5 separate regions of the Homo sapiens genome follow, and all the other regions are linked to region 1. Evidence: promoter capture Hi-C in 16 types of primary human blood cells and fetal thymus (Javierre and others, 2016). All regions are on one chromosome and are shown on one strand. The core of a region is centred on a gene start or on the middle of the fragment in contact, and the rest is flanking DNA. Distances in the headings are between cores, read along the strand shown. Region 1 holds the start of SLC45A2 (solute carrier family 45 member 2). Region 2 overlaps RAI14 (retinoic acid induced 14). Region 3 overlaps LOC124900637 (a long non-coding RNA gene). Region 4 holds the start of RAI14 (retinoic acid induced 14). Region 5 holds the start of LOC124900958 (a long non-coding RNA gene).

Evidence for each region. The method cuts DNA at HindIII sites, captures the fragments that hold promoters and counts their contacts. A CHiCAGO score of 5 or more calls a contact.
Region 2: a contact is called between a fragment that was not itself captured here and the fragment with the promoter of SLC45A2 in region 1, in 8 of 17 cell types (M2 macrophages, naive CD8 T cells, naive CD4 T cells and 5 more). The highest score is 10.8, in M2 macrophages.
Region 3: a contact is called between a fragment that was not itself captured here and the fragment with the promoter of SLC45A2 in region 1, in 1 of 17 cell types (monocytes). The highest score is 11.9, in monocytes.
Region 4: a contact is called between the fragment with the promoter of RAI14 here and the fragment with the promoter of SLC45A2 in region 1, in 4 of 17 cell types (naive CD8 T cells, activated CD4 T cells, monocytes and 1 more). The highest score is 8.3, in naive CD8 T cells.
Region 5: a fragment that was not itself captured here is called in contact with the fragment with the promoter of SLC45A2 in region 1 in 5 of 17 cell types (total CD8 T cells, total CD4 T cells, non-activated CD4 T cells and 2 more); the score reaches 7.5 in total CD8 T cells.

What each region holds. Positions count from the first base shown.
Region 1 is chr5:33,983,423-33,986,002 of GRCh38, forward strand. It overlaps SLC45A2 (solute carrier family 45 member 2), which reads right to left and starts at 1,271. Exons shown (of 7, transcript NM_016180.5): 1 at 777-1,271. The coding sequence starts at 1,161. The HindIII fragment of the contact is 8,753 bases long and covers 1-2,580 here.
Region 2 is chr5:34,796,554-34,799,133 of GRCh38, forward strand. All of the region lies in intron 4 of RAI14 (retinoic acid induced 14), which reads left to right. Among named protein-coding and RNA genes, the nearest start is that of TTC23L, 41 kb to the right of the region's middle. The HindIII fragment of the contact is 9,604 bases long and covers 1-2,580 here.
Region 3 is chr5:33,279,799-33,282,378 of GRCh38, forward strand. The region is part of intron 1 of LOC124900637 (a long non-coding RNA gene); the gene reads right to left. Among named protein-coding and RNA genes, the nearest start is that of LINC02160, 51 kb to the left of the region's middle. The HindIII fragment of the contact is 7,284 bases long and covers 1-2,580 here.
Region 4 is chr5:34,655,042-34,657,621 of GRCh38, forward strand. RAI14 (retinoic acid induced 14) reads left to right here and starts at 1,287. Exons shown (of 18, transcript NM_015577.3): 1 at 1,287-1,434. It overlaps RAI14-DT (RAI14 divergent transcript), which reads right to left and starts at 1,132. Exons shown (of 3, transcript NR_183264.1): 1 at 952-1,132. RefSeq lists a silencer at 1,245-1,294. The HindIII fragment of the contact is 8,769 bases long and covers 313-2,580 here.
Region 5 is chr5:34,524,556-34,527,135 of GRCh38, forward strand. LOC124900958 (a long non-coding RNA gene) reads left to right here and starts at 1,401. Exons shown (of 3, transcript XR_007058727.1): 1 at 1,401-1,536. RefSeq lists enhancers at 2,006-2,506, 2,507-2,580. The HindIII fragment of the contact is 3,528 bases long and covers 1-2,580 here.

The DNA of each region.
Region 1 (2,580 bases), core at 21-2,520:
ATGCTTATCAGCTTTTTGTTCATTCTCCTGGAAATATCCTACATTTGTACATTTACGCTTTCTTTCAAATATGTACAAATGATAATTGATTATCCTGCCTCATAATCACCGATTCTGCTAGCTTGAGAGTTAATGATCTACAAATGTGTGCTATTTTTAGCGATCCTTTTTGCAATGCAACTTTATTGTACTACCATCAATTACTGATTAATTGGTAGCTGATTAATGGCTAGAAAAAATGCCTACCCTCAGGTTTGCTTTTGTCCAGAATTTGCAATGCCAGAAAGGTCCTCTTGAGCTGATGGGCTTATGCCCTACGCCTATTAAAACGCTCTACATAAAACTATGAACAGAATTAACTTATTTGGATACACAGGTGACTTATTGTAAATATTTATGGAGCTATTTGGCAGCCAGTCAATTTGATAAGAGTATTAAATAGAGCATAATGGGCTCAAAAAGTAACTCAATTGATAAATATGTAAAAATATTCAATTCGATAAAATAGATACAAATTTAATAAAATAGATACAAATTTAATCCTATTTTTAAATCTTCACAACAATGAAACATATTTATTTTGATATTTCTAGAAGTAGAGGCTCCCCAACCACAGAATCTGGGCCAAATTTGTCAAAGGGGAAGTTCATTGTAACCTAGGAGAGATCAATTCTAACAAATTTCTAGGAAAGGTCAAACACATGAACATCCTCCTCCTGCAGAGGTACACACTAAGACACATATCCCTGTCTGCCCACCTTGTGCAGCCCACTTACCTGCTACAACAGTAGCCCCATTGAGGTACAGAGCCATGCCCACGAGCATCATGACTCCCAGGGTGAGGATGTAGGGTCTCCGGCGGCCCCACCTGGACCGGCAGTGGTCGCTGGCCGATCCGACCACGGGCTGCAGCAGGAATCCCAGGATGGGGCTGAGGAACCACACAATGCTGTACAGGCTGCTGGGCAGACCTACGCTGAGCAGGACTGGGGTCACATACGCTGCCTCCACCGCGTAGCAGAACTCTCTTCCGAACATGGCCATGCTGTGCATGATGAGTCTGCTGGTGGGTCTTTTAGGCGGCTCCACAGAGTCAAAGGGGCCATCATCAGCTAGGGATTTATAGATGTGGCGGCCAGCCTGCCCACTGTTGCTACCCATGGCCACTGGGAGAGGAACCTTCCTGCGAGCCCACCACCTCCTGCGTGGTCCTAGGGTCTGTGTTTCAAACTGGATTTGACGTGGAGCCTGGCCGAGCAACCAACAGAGATGGTCAGGCTGGGGGAGGGGCTCAAATTCTTTCCTGCCTCTAAGATCACAAGTTATGATGAGAGGGAGGGGGTGGTGCTGGAAAGCATGACAGAGATTAGCAGCTGTGAATCAGCCCTCTGGCTCCATAAGACGTTGGAATACTTTTCTAAAGGGATCCTCCTTTGTACTGTTCCCTCTCTCTTTCTCTCTCTCTCACACACACACACAATTACACGTGATCACACACATGGCTTCTCTCCCTCTCACACACACGTTATTACACGTGATCACACACATGGGCTCTCTCAGACAGTATTACACATGATCACACACATGGTTTCTCTCTCACACACACATGCTATTACACATGATCACACACGTGGCTTCTCTCACACACACATTATTACACATGATCACACACATGGCTTCTCTCACACACACGCTATTAAACGTGATCACACCTGGCTTCTCACACACACATGCTATTACACATGATCACACACGGCTTCTCACACACATGCTATTACACATGATCACACACATGGCTTCTCTCACACACATTACACATGATCACACATGGTTTCTCACATACATGCTATTACACATGATCACACACGGCTTCTCTCATGCATGTTATTACACATGATCATACACATGGCTTCTCACACACATGCTATTACACATGATCACACATGGCTTCTCTCACACACATTACACATGGTCACACATGGCTTCTCTCACATGCGTTATTACACATGATCATACATGGCTTCTCTCTCACATGCTATTACACATGATCACACATGGCTTCTCATGCATTTTATTACACATGACCACACACATGGCTTCTCTCACACACGTTATTACACATGGTCACACATGGCTTCTCTCACGTTATTACACATGATCATACATGGCTTCTCTCACACATTATTACACATGACAGCTTCTCTCTCACACACTATTGCACATGATCACACATGGCTTCTCTCACACACACATGCTATTGCACATGATCACACATGGTTTCTCTCTCACACACGTTATTACACAACGATCACACACGGCTTCTCTCTCATACACATTATTACACATGACCACACACATGGCTTTTCTCTCACACACACTATTACACATGATCACACATGGGGCTTTTCTCGTTATTACACATGATCGGACTCATGGCTTCTCTCACACACACATGCTATTACACATGATTGCACACATAGCTTCTCTCTCACACACGTGTTATTACACATCACACACGGCTTCTCACACACGTTATTTTACACGATCACACACATGGCTTCTCTCACACACGTTATTTTA
Region 2 (2,580 bases), core at 52-2,551, 810 kb after region 1:
GCTTCTTATCCTCATTTTTTATATTATTTTCTAAGATTATATGTACAGACCAAGCAATAGTCCCTAATTTTTGTTTTTATGAATCATTGTGTGAGGTGATGAGTGAGTTACTCAGGAGCTCATTTCATCAACTGAGATAGGCTCTGTAGATGGAAGCCTTGAACTTCATCTGGACCAGCTGCCCACGATTCTCACCCCTTGCTGTACTTCAGGGCATCCAGTTCACCTGGGAACTTGAAGGAAGGGAAAAGAGAAGAATAAACAGTACACACACACACAAACACACACACACATACACACACACACAAATATATATACCTACACTTTACCCTCTGAGATTCAGATTCCATTGTCTGGAAGTTGCCAGTCAACTGGTATTTTTTTAAAGCTCGCTGGGTGATTCTAATGTGAAGCCAGTGTTGACAAAAGATGAACAAGGCAAATGGAGAGAAAAGGTAGCGTAGTCTTACCTTGTATAAAACACTGTCCTATAAGAAGGAGCCCCTGGGGTCTCCAGCCTGGGATTCTGCCCCTGCTGGCCACCCCAAAAGACCAAAGCAACCACTGATGGCTTTTCATTTTTCGATTGTACTCGAGAATTTTTGGCTTCTAATAGGTTTCTATTAGTGTTTACTGGGATACAAAATTAGCCTAACTCCATTGCCTTTATCTAGGCTTTTCGTGAATCCGTAATGGATCCCTTTCTTTTCTCCCATCCCCAAAATTGGCCTCTTCAGACTAGTCATCTTGAGGGATCAGCCAGGTATTGCAGGAATGCTATTATTACTCAAAATATGGTTGGGAACAGGTTTAGAATTGTTTTCATTGTGTGAGGACTTAAAAAAAAGAATCTCAGTGGTTGGGAATCTTTATCCTTTGAGAATAGGGTTTTTTTTTAGGGCAAACCTAAGAGCCCTAAAAAAATTTGATGTCAAGTCAGGTGAATGATGTTTCAAACTGGTAAAACCATTTTTGGTCAAAAATAGGGAGTGATTGAAATAACAGAATGATTTTTCTGAGCAGTTCCACAGAAAGTTCCAAAAATATTTTGAGAAATGGCAACACCAATATAGGGGGATAAATGGTTTCCTTAAGTGACTGCCTTGAGGGAAATACTAATTTATGTTTTTCCAATTAAAGTCATCTTTAAACTCAAGACCCAATTATTGTGTTTGTTTTTAAAGTTCATTGTCATTGCTCTTAAAGTTATGCCATAAAACCACATGGTGCAGTATGATTTGCTAAAATACCCCTAATGAGATGTATGTCCTCTTAAGTAGGAGAAGTTTCCCTCTAAGAAACCCATAATCTGAAAGCATTAGCTCAGAGTGAATAAACTGGTGCCGTCACACGGTTTTGTTTCATTGTACTTGATATTAAGAAATAGATTAGACAGGACTGTAGTTATTTTCAGCATAACCAAAATCTTCCCTCACGTCTTTTTATTGTAGGGAAAAATAAGTTGGTTTTTTGTGTGTGTTTTTTTGTTTGTTTGTTTTTGAGACGGAGTCTTGCTCTGTTGCCCAGGCTGGAGTGCACTGGCACGATCTCTGCTCACTGCAACCTCCGCATCCCAGGTTCAAGTGACTCTCCTGCCTCAGCCTCCTGAGTAACTCAGATTACAGGCACCCACCACCACCACGCCCGGCTAATTTTTGTATTTTTAGTAGAGGCGGGGTTTCACCATCTTGGCCAGGCTGGTCTTGAACTCCTGACCTCAGGTGATCCACCCGCCTTGGCATCCCAAAGTGCTGGAATTACAGGCGTGAGCCACCAAGCCCGGCCAGAATAAGTTTTTTTTTTTTTTTAATACATGCTTATTGTAGAAAAGTTGAGAAATATAGTAAACTATAAAGAAGAAGATAACTCAAGTTCCTACTCCTATCAGAAAGAAAAAAAATATTTCTATTTTGTTGTATTTCCTTCCAGATTGTCCCAATACATTTTTACATGCCTGAGATCACATTATATAATAAATTCTATATCCTGCATTTTAATTTATTAAATATCCCGCCAGTTTCATTTCCCCCATTAAAGGCTCTTAAGAAGCATAGTTCTTGGTGGCCTCATAACACCCTGTGGGTAGAGCTCATATTTACCACCAGAGCCCTAACCCAGTTCCTGAGAGGCTGGTGCAGTGCTGAGCAGGAAGACCTGGATGCCCCAAGGCAGTGCCCACTTCCTGCAGACTGAGATGGTACCACTCTCTAAGAAGCAACACTGGAGGGAGTGCTGTGGACACAGCCTGGATATTTCCCAGGATTCGCCAGTGGGAACCAATTGAAATTGGTGGAATCCACAGCACTTTGGGGCCACAGGACATTGTCCAAACATTCCATGGGTTGAAGATGTCTCAGAGCTCCCGTCACTTCCTTCTCACCTGATATTTTTAGCCATGATTCCAGCACTTCCCTCCTTGGGCTTCATCGTTTTATTTTGGCCTGAAGGAGGTACCAGCTTCTTCCCATGATTTCTTGAAAGCATGCAAAGAGAACACGGGAACAAAAGAAGAACACTGCATGGAAAAAAGTGCATCTAGAAAAACACTTCTCATTTTTTTCTGTCCCAATAAACAGGTTA
Region 3 (2,580 bases), core at 36-2,535, 700 kb before region 1:
AAAAACACGTGAAAAAATGCTCATCATCACTGGCCATCAGAGAAATGCAAATCAAAACCACAATGAGATACCATCTCACACCAGTTAGAATGGCGATCATTAAAAAGTCAGGAAACAACAGGTGCTGGAGAGGATGTGGAGAAACAGGAACACTTTTACACTGTTGGTGGGACTGTAAACTAGTTCAACCATTGTGGAAGTCAGTGTGGCGATTCCTCAGGGATCTAGAACTAGAAATACCATTTGACCCAGCCATCCCATTACTGGGTATATACCCAAAGGAATATAAATCATGCTGCTATAAAGACACATGCACACATATGTTTACTGCGGTACTATTCACAATAGCAAAGACTTGGAACCAACCCAAATGTCCAACAATGATAGACTGGATTAAGAAAATGTGGCACATATACACTATGGAATACTATGCAGCCATAAAAAATGATGAGTTCATGTCCTTTGTAGGGACATGGATGAAATTGGAAATCATCATTCTCAGTAAACTATCGCAGGGACAAAAACCAAACACTGCATGTTCTCACTCATAGGTGGGAACTGAACAATGAGAACACAAGGACACAGGAAGGGGAACATCACACTCTGGGGACTGTTGTGGGGTGGGGGGAGGGGGGAGGGATAGCATTAGGAGATATACCTAATGCTAAATGACGAGTTAATAGGTGCAGCACACCAGCATGGCACATGTATACTTATGTAACTAACCTGCACATTGTGCACATGTACCTAAAACTTAAAGTATAATTAAAAAAAAAAAAAATCTCAGACAGGTCTAAATTTGGTCACCGGAGTGAAGAATAAATACTCTGATGTCTCTAAAGACTTTACTTGGGTTGCCAAATTCTCTCTGACAGGCTCTGGAAATACAAATGGAAGGGCTTTAAGTATTATTTCCTACTTTTCCCAGTACTTCTTTCTGTATGTGCATACAGACAAGCGGGCCATCTCAGGAGGGTGACTGGAAAAGTAGCAGGAGCAGTGGACTGGGAGTCAGCTCTGGGACCAACTCATGACGTGACCTTTGACCGATCTCTAGACCTCTAGATTTAAAAAAAAAAAATTGACTGAGCATCTCCTCAGGCGTTTTTATGGCAGAAATTCTATAAGCTATGTATTAATGACTTTTATAATAAATTAAATAAAACAAATAAATTTATTTAAGGAAATTACCCTGGCATAAGTCCCTAGCTGTTGCAAGGCTTAATTTTCTCCACTACACTGTGTAGGATATAAAATATGCTAAGGCTTCATGAGCAATATAGAAACACTCTGGTGACTGGCTCTAAGATTTATCATGATGGCTGCAGCTTGCTGTGCTGGAATAACTTTCCTTGGAATGGGAAATACAATAGCTTATCATTTTCTTATAGAGTTAAGAATGGTTTTGCTTTTTGAAGAAGAAACTGACTCCGTAAGAAAACTGTAGGATAGTGTCTTGTTAAACCACATTCTTCATGCCAATAATTGAAGTTATATGGATTCAAGAATATTGTTTCTCTTTAAACTGATGCACATGATTTCATTAAAAATAAAATTTAGCATGGAAGATGTTTAAAAATACACAGATTTGCTTATTCTTCTCAAGAGCAATGAACTCAAACTCGACTCTATAATCATCATAAATAAAGATTCTGCTTTGCTATGTGCTTTATCTTGGCGCTAAGAAGAAAAACCTTCATCTATTTATATTCAGTCTGCTCCTATCTTTTTGTTTATTTAGACTTAGATACAACAGTCCTTTACTTGCTTGTCACTACCATTGCTCACAACTTTTTCTAAAAGCCAAAATGCTGTCAGAAACCCAAACTTCATCCATTCATTAATCTTTCGGCGCCACAACCTGGGAGGTCAGTATCTGGTCACTGTCTTCAGTTTCATATGATATGCAATATTTATATCACGTGGATCTGATCTAAATAGCCTAGTCTTGGAACTCAGTCTAAGAAGGTCATTTGGCTTACAAAATACTACTTGGCCTACATAATAAACACTGGTCCAGCACACAGGAACTACGCTGCCCTTTACTCATTCTTCCCAGTGCCCCAGACCTGACCATGGAAGAAAAAATAAGTAGCATTAGCTACCTATCTATATTTCAGGAAGTAACTTTTTATTCCAAAAGAACATTTCTCATTGCCTGTCACTACTCCTTTGTATCTTGCATTCTTTTGCATCTTGAAGGTTTTGGATTCTTTAGGAATTCCCCTTAAAATTGAGATGTCAGAGACAAGGTGAAGTTAAGGAGGTTGGGGTTCGGGGGTAGGTGGATTATTGTAGCAACTCAAGAGTTGAAGAACTGAAGAATCTGAAAAATGAAAGAAAGGTATATGCTGAAGGAAGGTGTGAGAAATCACCAAAAATCAACATTGCTATCTCATAATTTTGCCAAAAACCAGCCTTCCTATTATTTATCCCTGCAAAAAAAATGTGAACCAGTTTGCTTTCAGCAAACACTAAATTTCTATGTTCAAAAAGTAAGCAAAACATCTCTAAATAATAAAAATTAGTGACATATCTTACTTTATTCTGCCGACTTAGCAGTTTTCTGAGAAATCAATG
Region 4 (2,580 bases), core at 37-2,536, 670 kb after region 1:
AGGAACTTTTGCTGTAGGAAGTGAAGACCCTGCACCTAGTTACAAGGCTTTTGATGCTTGTTTGTCAAGTTCAACTGTTAAAGGGGAGATAGGCTCTTCCCTAGTAGGGAGAGGGAGGAAGGAAAGGGGGATGGGGCGGGGGGAGGGAACAGGTAATATCTGCCATATAAATATTAGTATGTAGCTGACACGTTATAAACTGAGCTGTTAGGGTGAATTTCAATTTTGTTGGAATCGACCTTTTTTCCCTCTTAAGTTCAATTGACTTACAGTAGATCCCAGAAAGAACTCAATACGTTATTTATTCTAGAAAGCTTTCTTCCCTGAGCAAAGGAGGCAGAGCTAACGAGGAGAAGGGAGGAGCTTAGGTGAACAGAACTGAAGTCACAGCTGGTTAGCATGACTAGAATGCATGGAAAAGCCAGCCCAAATTAGATGAGTGGGTAGATAGAGAGCTTTGAAATCCTTGGAATTAATGGTGGAGTCCATCGTAATTGAAAGGTCGGGCCTTAGTGGGCTGGGATAGGGAGAGAAGCTGTCGGGGACCTGGGGCAGTGAGCCTGTACCCCGTGGCTTCTCACACACTATTTTGAAGGCGTTCCCATGCGCAATCTCGCCTGTCAGTTCAGGCTGTAGGTTTCTCCTTTCTAACTCCTGAGCAGAACAACACTGAACGGTGGTAGTCTTGCCTTGCCACCCAATGAGTGCTAGAAAACAGTCACTTCAACCAATTGGTTCAGTCCGGAGAACGTGAGCACATTCTACTTTACTTTCTGTTCAATGATTTTGGAAAACAACCTTTTAGATTCTGGTCAGAAGGGGCTTGGATCCGTGACTTTGAAACACTCGCCACTACCACAAACGACTTTGGAAGTTAATCAGAAATAAACAGTATCTGGGATCTCATCCGTCCTAAACCCAGGGGTCAGAGCGTGGGGGGCTTCCACTAACTTCAGGTTAAGAGGATGAAACAGATCCGCGGAGAAGGGTCCCACGATCCCTGGAGACTAAAAGCAAGCCACGAACAGCCGGGACGCGCGGGCCGGGGAGATGCGCCGGGGGCTGGAGGGCGGAGAGCACCCCCCGCAGGTCCCGGCCAGAGCCCGGGGCCGGGTCACCTGACTCGCGGAATTTGGGGCCGCGAGGGGTGGAATGGGAGGGGAATGGTTAGCGCCTCCCTTCCCGCTCCCACTGGATCCAGGTCGGCGGGGGCCGGCGCCCGGCGGCCACGTGGTGGTGCTGCCGCTGCCCCCGCCCCGCCGGCCTAGCCCGGGAGCTCGGCGCCCACTGACCCCCGCAGCGGGGGAGGAGGAGGGACTGCGGCGCAGGAAGCCGAGCAGGAAGCGAGCCCGGCGGCCGCGTTTTCCTGGGGAAGCGGCGGGCGGGGTGGAGCAGCCAGCTGGGTCCGGGGAGCGCCGCCGCCGCCTCGATGGGGTGAGTGCGCGGCACGGAGTTGGGAGGCTCCCGGCGCGGGGTCCCGGGCTCGTGTCCCCGCCTTTGTGTCTGGAGCTCGGGCGCGGGAGGCGCTGGGGACGGCGCCCGGGCGGAGCGGCTGAGCGGGCTGCAGCCGGGGTCCCGCCACCTCTCCCTGGTCCACCGCCGGCAGCCCACTGTCTGCGGAGAGCAGATCTGGGGACAAGAGGAAGGAGAGGAAGGTGGAGATGAGGGTAGAGCGGGAAGACCCGGCCAAGTTAGGAGAAGGGTTCTTCCCGGGTCCTCCGCGACTCGCAGGCCGGCTGGGGCGGGGCGCGGGGCAGGGGCCGCGGCGGAGGGAGCGCGGGTGGGAATGAATGAGCAGACCCGGAGATGCACCCTGGAGTCTGCGCCGGGTCCCACCTGTTTCGCCCCGCGCGGCGCCTCGCTGCCCCCGCGTCGGTGCTGCTGAGCCCAATCCGCCTCCCGGCTGAACTTGGAGGAGGTGGGGAGGGAGGTGCGAGCGGGAGACTCCGGGTGGCTCCCAGGACGCGGGGTCCGCTATTGTTCCTCCTCTGACTCCAGGGAGCCCCTCGGCCGGCCCAAGGGCGGGGGCGAGACCCCTCTGGGCCTGCCCCTGCCCCCTACCTTGTTTTCCCCGCCGCAGCTCGGGGAGAACGGATGCTGGAGTTGGGGCAGACTCGGGGCCGCCGGGACTTCGGGAGTAAGGAGGACGTGGAGCCACCAGAAAGGCGCCCGCCATCTCCCGCGACCCCTGCCTGGTGGGGGGTGGGGGGTGGGGTGTCGTCCTCAACCACCTTCGCTGCCTTCTTGGGCAGGTTGGTGTCGGTTTAGTTTCTGCGGTTTGCAGGGTTGACATCCTAACTCCTTTGAGTTTCGCATCCCCCTTTTGTGGAGGGGGCTCAGAGCCTGGAGAAGCAACAGACGGGGAATTAAGGCAGATGCAGCCCAGCACAGCGTGGAGGGGTCCGAAGTGGCCTCACGGGGGCCTGAGCATGGCTGTCTTTCCAGGCTCCTCTTTATTTGCCAGGAGCCCAGCTAAGCCCAACTTTACTCCCAGAAATGTTGAGGGGAATCTGCGGACTCGAGGCCCCTCGCCTCGGGACCAGCGGCTTCTCTTCGCCGCAGCTCACGCATGATCGGGGT
Region 5 (2,580 bases), core at 59-2,558, 540 kb after region 1:
CGATGAAAACATTGATCACAGACATATTACAGCTGAGTACCAAGTGCTACTGGAGTCACAGCAACATCAGTTCTGGATTATCAATGTTTATGTCCAAAGGGGAGATAAATTGTTGACAAGGTAGTAGTCAGGGTAAGTCAATAGTTCAGTGGGAAAGCATTAGGGACAGATCTTTTTAGCTTTACCCTCTTTACCCACCAAACACTCATTTTTAATTAGGAACAGATTCAATGTGAAGGATAGGCTCACTCATCACTGTGGTGAGACATTGTTCTCATGTCCTTCACTGCCCACACTCTTTTTATTTTTATTTTTTTATTTTTTATTTTTTTATGAGACGGAGTCTCGCTCTGTCGCCCAGGCTGGAGTAAAGTGGCACAATCATGGCTCACTGCAGCTAAGACCTCCCCCGGCTCAGGTGATCCTCTCATCTCAGCCTCCAAAGTAGCTAGGACTACAGGCACCTACCTGGCTGATTTTTCTATTTTTTTGTAGAGATGATTTTGCCTTGTTGCCCAGGCTGGTCTCAAACTCCTGGGCTCAAGAGACCTGCCCGCCTCAGCCTCCCAAAGTGCTGGGATTACAGGCGTGAGCCACACCACCCGGCCATTGCCTACACTCTTTATCCAGAGTTTATTTGGTGATTTTCACCTCATTTTTGTGCTCAGTCTTAAGATCTGATTAATGCCAAAAATAAATAATCTAATTTCAAAATAATATAAGTTCATATTACGTATAGACATGTTTGTGCACATATGCATATGATGAGCTTCACGTATACAACTATTCATACATTTATATTTTTATCATTCATATATGCATGCATGTGTGTAAGAGGACTTGGCCTTTCTTATTTAAAACTGATCATATATTAATATATATAAGAAGGACAGAGAATGGAAGGCCATACACCTCCATGTTAGCAGTAGTTATCTCACAAGGGTAGAATTACTTCCTTTGCTGATTTCTCTTCTATTCTTTTTTTGTCTGTGATTTTCATGTTTTCTGCAATAATCAAATATTACTTTTATAAATAGAAAAAACCCATAATGTAATGGTTTTGGAAAAGTGTATTTGACTTTAGTAACAAAGTAGTCTGTTCTAACAAAAAAGCAAGGTAAAATTGGTCTTAGGGCCTGACAGCTCAGGTGACCCTTAACTCACTGCTTAATTGGCACTGACTTGGCCAACATCACCTCAGTGTTTTCTCATCTGAAGCAGAGAAGATATTTGCTAAGCCCTATTCAGGGCTGTTGAGGAATCAAATGAGAAGGTTATCCGAAAGCACTTTGTGATTAGACTGCATATATAAAAACATGCTGACTTCACTGTGACAGTTGCATTTTCCGTGAACTGGCTGTGCACCTCCTGTTATAGGGAGTTCCCAGGAGCCGGGTCATGCCCGAGCCTTCCTGTGGAACTCCCCGAAGAACTTGGTCCCTCATTTGGGAACAGCAACAATCAAGAAGACCTGCCAATGTCAGAACTGGAAGAGTACCAGATTCCCAGATTTAGTTCCAACAGTCAAGAGTCAAGGTTTGTTTCATCGGATATCCTGACCATGGAATTCCACAGGAACTAGGGTGGTTGAATCAATAATAGGACACTCAGGTACATTTGAATTTCAGATACAGGTACATAACAAATAATTTTTAGTATGAGTATGTCCCAAATATTGCACAGAATTCATGTACATCAAAAAACATTTGTTGTTTATCTGAAATTCAAATTTAACTGAGTTTCCTGTCTGTATTTTTTTGTTAAATCTAGTCATCCTAATGGAAACTTTTACCCCCTCTCACTAGTTTGGTTGGTTGGTTGGTTGGTTGGTTGGTTGGTTTTTACTTATTAACTTCAGCTTCTTAATGAGAATTTAGGTTTTACAAATACAGTCGTCCTTTGGTGTGCATGGGAGATTGGTTCTAGGACCTCCCTCAGACACCAAAATCCACAGATGCGCAAGTCCTTGATACAAAATGGTGCAGTATTTGCATATAACCTATGCACAACCTCCTGTATACTTTATGTCATCTCTAGATTACTTAAGATCTCTAGATTGCTAATATAAATGCTATGTAAATAATTGTTACACTGTGTTATTTAGGAAATAATGATGAGGAAAAAAGTCTGTACATGTTTAGTACAAATGCAATTTGTTTCCAAATACTTTTTATCCATGGCTAATTGGATCCAGTCATGGAATCCACAGATACTGAGGGCCAACTGCATATGCTCAGGGCCTTTCAGATAAGGCACCCTCTGTAAGTGCACCTGACATATGCTAAACAATGATAGGCTATTGCAACAGCATCAGCAGGGCTGGCAGGGTGCTAAGGAAGCACACAGGTGACTGTTGGGGCACCCACCAGCATTCTTTCAGAACATTGTAAACGGTAGAGAGCTTCAAGGGTGACTGTCTGGGTCACATCTTGCCCTTTAATTGGCCTGGCTGTTGTGCAAAGGAAGCACCTGCAGCCATCAGCGTGTTCAACCACCAGTAGACTGGAGTCATTTTTCATTCTTGGATGTGAAATTGGCCAGGGGCAATTAAGAATTGGGAAACTAGAAAAGGCAGCCCGG